Linked DNA regions of Homo sapiens: region 2 is linked to region 1. The links are contacts of gene promoters, found by promoter capture Hi-C in human tissues and cell types (Jung and others, 2019). All regions are on one chromosome and are shown on one strand. Each heading gives the region's core, a stretch centred on a gene start or on the middle of the fragment in contact. The rest is flanking DNA. Distances are from core to core; before and after follow the strand shown. Region 1 holds the start of ZNF592 (zinc finger protein 592). Region 2 holds the start of LINC00933 (long intergenic non-protein coding RNA 933).

Region 1 (3,608 bases), core at 427-2,926:
GCAACGGCACGATCTCAGGTCACTGCAACCTCCGCCTCCCGGGTTCAAGCAATTATCGTGCCTCAGCCTCCCAAGTAGCTGGGATTACAGGCATGCACCACCACACCCGGCTAATTTTGTATTTTTTTAGTGGAGACGGGGTTTCACCATGTTGGTCAGGCTGGTCTCGAACTCCTGATCTCAGGCGATCCACCCGCCTCGGCCTCCCAAAGTGCTGGGATTACAGGCGCGAGCCACCGCGCCCGGCCACGACTATTAATTATTAGACTTTCCCAATGGCTAAGAACTAAAACATGGTATCTTTCTGGCTTACCAATGTACTCCCAACACCTAGCTCAGTGCCTGGCACAGAGTAAGTGCTCAGTAAAAATTTATTTAATGAATCAAAGCCACAACTAGTTGAAAAATTGGAAAATGATCAAAATGGACGCACTAGCACCACACTTCTGCCCCTTTCACTGTGTAACGTAACAGTGAGGTTGAGGAAACAGACTACTAAAATACCACCAAGCATCCACCAGGCCAGGAATCTGTCTGTCCACATCCTCCGCACTCTGCCACACTGTGCACCACACTGCACCCGCGACAGAAGCACCCTACAGGCCCTCCATGAGCACAGGCCTGAACTCAAGTGGGCAAACCATAAGCCAAATACCGTCTTACTCCCCAAGTCCCATTCTTCTACTGCCAGTCCTATTCTAGACTAGTCCTGGATGCCAAACATGCTTCCCTGGGTGGGCCTGTGGACTTATTCCAATCCAGGACCTTTAATGCCACCTTTGGCCTACTCAAAAAATGGTTTAAAATCCCTAAACAGCTTCAATAATCCTGCAGTACTCAGGAGCAGGCATACCTAAGGTCATACGGACCCCTCCCCCTCACAAACGCTGATCCAAGGCCAGGAGGCCATCTGTCCAGCAGACGCTCTCCTGTCCTCCCTCAGGTCACACTGAGCCTCCCGCCAACCCCCTCGTTGGCAGGAAGAGCCCTTGCAGAGAGACAATTTTCACCCTGATCAACAGGCCTGGTCACCCCTGAGGACCCCAACTCTGGAGCTCTAGGAATACCTGTCTGCTCCGGGAGAAACCTTCCTCAGGGTCAGAACTTGGGCTCAGGGGAGGGGAGTACTGAGGAGCGCCAAAGAGGGTCGTTCCCCGAAGTGTCTGCCCTGTGACGGCGACAGCTCTTCGGGCGGCGGGGACGGTCGGGCTGACAGGCCGTCCCAGAGGGAGAAAGTGGCACCGTTATCCGTGCCCGGGCTGGGGGCCGCCGGCTATCGCCGAGGGCGGCCGCACGTCCCGCCCAGCGCGGAGGACAGCAGCGTGCCCGGCCTGCCAAGGAGCGGCGGTCGCAGCGGCGGTCGCAGCGGCGGAAGGGGCCGGCGCCCGACGGCCGGGGGCGGGGTGGGGTGGCGGCCCGGGCCCGCCAGGCGGCGGTCGGGGGAAGTGGCTGCCGCCTCTGGCGGCGGCCAGGGTCCGCCAGGCTGCAGGGCCGGGCCCCGGCTCGGGCTCGGACTCGGTCCCGGCTGCGATCCTCCCGGGCCCAGGCTGGGGCTGCCCCGGCCCGCAGGCCCCGCTCGGCCCGGCCCGCGGGGGGCGCTTACCTGGCGGCGGCGGCGGCGACTGCAGGCCAGAGTCTCGGCCGCGCGCGTCCCCAGCGCCGGCTGCGGGAGCCACAACATGGCGACGGCGATGGCGGGCGGGGCTGCGGCTCCGGGGGCGGAGCGGGGGCGGGAGCCGGCCTGGCGGCGGGACCTGGCTGGGGCTGCCGCGGCGGGGGATTGGGGGGGGGGGGGGGCAGGCGGAAGGCGACTCGGACCTGGGCACCGGCCCAGGACGGTGCGGTGGAGGGGCTGCCCCGGCCTGGGCCCGGCCTCCCGCCTCCCGCCTCCCGCCCGAGGCGGGCTGCGCGGCGCAGGCCCGGCGACGGCGACGACGGCGGCGGCGGGTAGGGCGGGGCGGGACGCGACGGGACGGGGCGGGGCGGGGACGGCGCCGCTCAGGGCTGGACCCCCGACCCCGGCCGGCCCCCGCCCGGCTCCAGTCCCCGCCACCCGTGCTAGGCACCCTGTGCGGTCGGGCAGGCAGCCGCTGCCAGCGACCTGGGCCTCTTGTCCTCTGACGCGCCTCGGGGCAGGGGCAGGGGCCGAGGCCGCCCACTAGAGGAACAGGATCTGCCTACGCAGCTGTCTCGCCCGGCAAAGAGCGCCCAGGACCCGGGACTGCGTCCTCTTCACTGAGACCTGGCGCATAGGGGGCCTAGTCGAGGCTGTTAAGTGAAAGCAAGCAGGGGTGGCGTGGGCCTGGCGCTCAGGTGCGCCCTAAATGTTTGGTCATAGCTGGCTACAAGGACATTCGCGCAGGCTTGGAGGTGCGGGGCAGCCTGACGTGTTGCCTCTGGGGTAACCGAGGGACGCGCGGCAAACAGAGATGGAGGACTGGCAACGGGTGCCTCGAAGAGGTAGACTGGGAGATCTCTCAGGGTTACTGGGGAAACGATGACTGTGCAGGGTGAGAACTCAGTGAGTCTGGCAGAAGGCTGGGAGGGTGACCGGCAGGACCTTCCAAGAACCCGGCGTACCTGGAAACTGGGTCCGCAGCATTAGGGCGGCAGCAAGGTCAGGGTGTGGGAACACGGAGATGAGGCCCTGGTGACTAGGAGTGAGCACACACTGCTAACCATGGAGAAATTCCTTCTCCAGGAAGGAGATGCAAATGTGCAAGATGGCTGGAACTAACATGCAGCCGGAGCCTGCTGTGCACCAGGCACAGAACTGAGTTGAAGAGCTTGTCTAAAGAGTATGTTAGCCAATGAAGCAATGGAGTTAATAAAGGGTGATGATTTCAAATGTTTGGCAGTGAGAGAGAGAAAAGTAGGCCTGGAGCTCAAGAAGTACCAAGAGTAAAGGAGAAAGTTGGGTCCTACTGTGGAAGCTGAGGCAAAAGCATCCCTTAAGCCGAGAAGTTTGAGTTCAGCCTGGGCAACATAGCGAGACCCTCCCTCTCTGCAAAAGAGTAAAGGGAAAAGTTGATTGTTTTTTGTTTTTTTTTTTTGTCTTTGGAGACGGAGTTTCGGTCTCGCAGCCCAGGCTGTAGTGCAATTGCGTGGTCTCGGCTCACTGCAACCTCTACCTCCAGAGTTCCAGTGATAATCCAGCCTCAGCCTTCAAAGTAGCTGGAATTACAGGCGCACGCCACCATGCCTGGCTTTTTTTTTTTTTTTTTTTTTTTTTTTTTTTGAGAGAGAGTTTCGCTCTTGTTGCCCAGGCTGCAGTGCAATGGCACAATCTCGGCTCACTGCAACCTCTGCCTCCTGGGTTCAACCGATTCTCCTGCCTCAGCCTCCCGAGTAGCTGGGATTACAGGCATGCGCCACCATGCCTGACTAATTTTGTATTTTTAGTGGAAATGGGGTTTCAACATGTTGGTCAGGCTGGTCTCAAACTCCTGAACTCAGGTCATCCACCCGCCTCGGCCTCCGAAAGTGCTGGGATTACATGCATGAGCCACCGCACCCGGCCCTAATTTTTGTATTTTTAGTAGAGATGGGGGTTCGCCATGTTGGCCAGGCTGGTCTCGAACTCCTGACCTAAGGTGATCCACCTGCCT
Region 2 (3,471 bases), core at 481-2,980, 180 kb after region 1:
GAGGTCCCGCGGGTGGTCGCGGCCATGACAGCGGCTCCCGACCGGCTCACCTTCCGCGCCCCTCCCGCCAGAGGTGAGAGTAAAATGTCCGTGTCAGGGTTCAAGGCCAAGCTGAAGTTGTTGTCCTCTATTTTCCACAAGAACCAGGAGCCGCCGCGGCAGCTCAGGCTCCACTGCAACATCACGGTGAGGCGCCCAGCGGCGGCTTCACACGGCAGGGCGAGGGCGGAGAGGAAGAGCCCGGAGTCCCGGGACAAAGGGGAACCTGCCCAGGAGAGGCCCCGGTTCCCCGGGCCGGGTGAGCGCGCACCTTTCTCCCGCGACTGGCCTGGCCCCGATCGCCGGGACTGCGGGAGGCTTGGGTGGGAGGAGGGGGAGGGCGCGTCTCTCTGGCTCCTTGCTGCGGGGCTGGCTTGGGGGCTGCCGGCACCTCTCGCCCCAGTCACCGCGCCCCGAGGTGGGAGCCCGCGTCGCCCGCAGCCCTTTCGGGGCCCATGGTCGCCCTCAGTCAGCCAGCCTGCTCCCCGGGACCGCGACGGGGCGTGGCAGGGCGTCTCCGGCTGTTGTTTGAGCCCGGGCGGGGAAGGGGAAAGGCCTTCAAGATTTTCGGGGTTTTGGCCGGGCGCAGTGCTCGTTCCTGTAATCCCAGTACTTTGGGAGGCTGACGCAGCTGGATCGCCTGAGGTCAGGAGTTCTAGACTAGCCCGGCCAACATGGTAAAACCCTGTCTCTACTAAAAATACAAAAATTAGCCGGGCATGGTGGCAGGCACTTGTTGAGATGGAGTCTCACTCTGTCGCCCAGGCTGGAGTGCAGTGGGGTGATCTCGGCTTACTGCAGCCTCCGTCTCTTGACAGTCCATGGGTTCAAGCGATTCTCCTGCCTCAGCCTCCCGAGTAGCTAGGATTACAGGCTCCTGACACCACGCCTGGCTAACTTTTGTGTTGTTTAGTAGAGACAGGGTTTCACCATGTTGGCCAGGCTGGTCTCGAACTCCTGACCTCAAATGACCCATCTCTGCCTCCCAGAGTTCTGGGATTACAGGCCTGAGCCACCGCGCCCAGATCCAAGGCCCTTAAGCTTAAATGCCTCGTTCTTCAGTCAGGTTTTCCTTGTTCCCGCATGTTCAGCCAATCGTGTTTAAGGAGAAACTAACAATGAAAACGGGCTTGTTGATGGAGGAAAAGTTGGAATGCAGCCTCTGGTGCTGTTTGAGCGATCCCTCTATCCCGGGTCGCTGCTGTGTTCTGGAAAGGCACATTGTACCCTGGATGCAGCAGGTAAGAGTCCTGTCCAGGTGCTCTGCCCGCTTTCCTTTCAGGCTTCTGTATCATCTATTTTTCCCCTGTAGAATGTGCCCCTGACAGCCACCCCCTAACCCTACCCAATTTGTCTTTACATGTCTGACCATCAAGGCTCTTCTGGGTCATATTCAGTTCATGCTGATATTTCCCCTTCCTCCCCTCTTTAGTCCTCACTATTTTTGCTTTGGTCATGTTATGCTGTATTCTGTAAGGCTTTTTAATTTTTTTTTTATGATGGCAGGGGAGAATAGTTTATAATTATGCTTTGTGCTTTTTATCTTCTACTCAATAAATGCTTGGTAAATATTTGTTTTATTGAATGTATGACCCTATTCTAGCTATATTGTGCTTGAACAAAAACCTTAACTGCCTTGTAAGTTAACTGCTAAGAATTTGTCAGAAGTGCAGACATAACATCAAGAACTTGTCATGGATAGTACAAAAAGGTCTCTAAGGGCTTGATGGAGGCCTGTAAATTGACTTCCTATGAAAGAGAGTGTAAGAAGTGAAAATGTAAAGCATGACTGGAGAGCCAGAGTGATGAAGCCAGGGTCCCTTTCTCCAGATCCTTTGTAACAGTGTTATGTGATCTCTTCTAGAAGATCGTTCTGAAAGATAATGCCAACTTGGAACCTAGGAAACCATCCAGTGGGTTTCTGCAGCTTAGGTGGTTCAAATCCTCATCAGCACCTTTGTTTTCTCTGCCTCAGTTTGCTAACAATGATGTTCTCAGTAGCTGTAATTGCTGTCTTTGAATACGTAAGCATTTTTTTTTAGATGACAGGGATATATGTGCATTTTTATTTTACCAAGTGTTAGAATTTTTACTCTGCTTTTGTGGGCTCTGGGTTAGCTACTTGGTTGTTTAGATGTAAAATGATTAGCAGGGAAAACTCTGTGTGTGTGTGTGTGTGTGTGTGTGTGTGTGTGTGTGTGTGTGTGTTATAAGTTTCTTTTGTTGTCAGAGGACTTAGAATTTTATTTTATATGGTAATTCTGTCAATTTACTTTATTCTCCACCCCACATTTATTGAACAGCAAAGTATGAAAGTAACGTGTCCCATAACCAGCCTTCAGAAAAATTACAACTGCTGTATATCTGAAATTCTTTTTTTCTTTTTTTAATTTTGAGAAGGAGTCTCACTCTATCACCCAGGCTGGAGTGCAGTGGCACAATCTCGGCTTACTGGAAACTCTGCCGCCCACGTTCAATCGATTCTCCTGCCTCAGCCTCCTTAGTAGCTGGGATTACAGGCATCTGCCACTGCACCTGTCTAATTTTTGTAATTTTAGTAGAGTCGGGTTTCACCATGTTGGCCAGGTTGGTCTTGAACTCCTGACCTCATAATCTGCCTGCCTTGGCCTCCCAAAGTGCTGGGATTACAGGCATGAGCTACCGTGCCTGGCTGAACTTGCAAGAAAAATATGTGCATCAGTTTTCAAAAAATTATATCAAAAGATAGCTGTGCCCTACATTTGGAAAGATACAAAAACCTAACATACCGGCAGGCAGTTTTGCTTGCTGGTGCTTGAGATAGAGCCACACATTGGTCTCAGTGGATTTATGGAGAAAAATAGATACAGAATATTGTTTCTAATTAAGACCAAAAAATCCTTTTCTTAAGCAGTGACAGGTAAAGAGGTTGTCTTGGCTAACCTTGAATTGTGTTGCCCTTGATTGAGACAGTTTTATGGTGGGGTTGGTAGTGGTGATAAACTTGTTTGAAATTTGTCTGCTTATAGTAAGCTTTGTGGTAGCTGTCACAGAGAACTTCATCCTCACAGGCCCTAAAATTACTATAAAACTAATAGAATGGAGGAGAAACAAAGGACCTGAATAATTAGATGCTTAGATAATTGTTCTGTGTTTTCATAACCGGTGAAAAAGAGCAGTGTTAGAAGTACTTAAACATTCCATGTAGGGAACACTGCCTGAATTTATATTGTGATTTTTGAGCATCATTCACTGTTTAAAAACAGGCATATTGTGGGTCGTATTTTAAAGACAAATAGAAAACTTATCTTTTCAAGATGGATCTAAAGCTTAACCTTATCAAAATTACAAAATGTAAAGGATATGATTGAAAAATATTAATGCATAGGTTTAAATATTGGTCATCATTTTAGATTTCTTTCAAAATAGGTTGTCTCTTAAATATTAAACTGA

The links. The method cuts DNA at HindIII sites, captures the fragments that hold promoters and counts their contacts. A contact is called where the count stands out against the background at its distance.
Region 2: a fragment that was not itself captured here is called in contact with the fragment with the promoter of ZNF592 in region 1 in 2 of the 25 tissues and cell types used here (adrenal gland and spleen).

Annotation. Positions count from the first base shown.
Region 1 is chr15:84,746,660-84,750,267 of GRCh38, reverse strand. It overlaps ZNF592 (zinc finger protein 592), which reads right to left and starts at 1,676. Exons shown (of 11, transcript NM_014630.3): 1 at 1,604-1,676. RefSeq lists enhancers at 705-784, 1,313-2,152, 2,225-2,524 and silencers at 1,185-1,674, 1,735-2,154. The HindIII fragment of the contact is 21,328 bases long and covers 1-3,608 here.
Region 2 is chr15:84,567,314-84,570,784 of GRCh38, reverse strand. It overlaps LINC00933 (long intergenic non-protein coding RNA 933), which reads right to left and starts at 136. Exons shown (of 4, transcript NR_038274.1): 1 at 51-136. It also overlaps the pseudogene UBE2Q2P1. The HindIII fragment of the contact is 5,545 bases long and covers 1-3,471 here.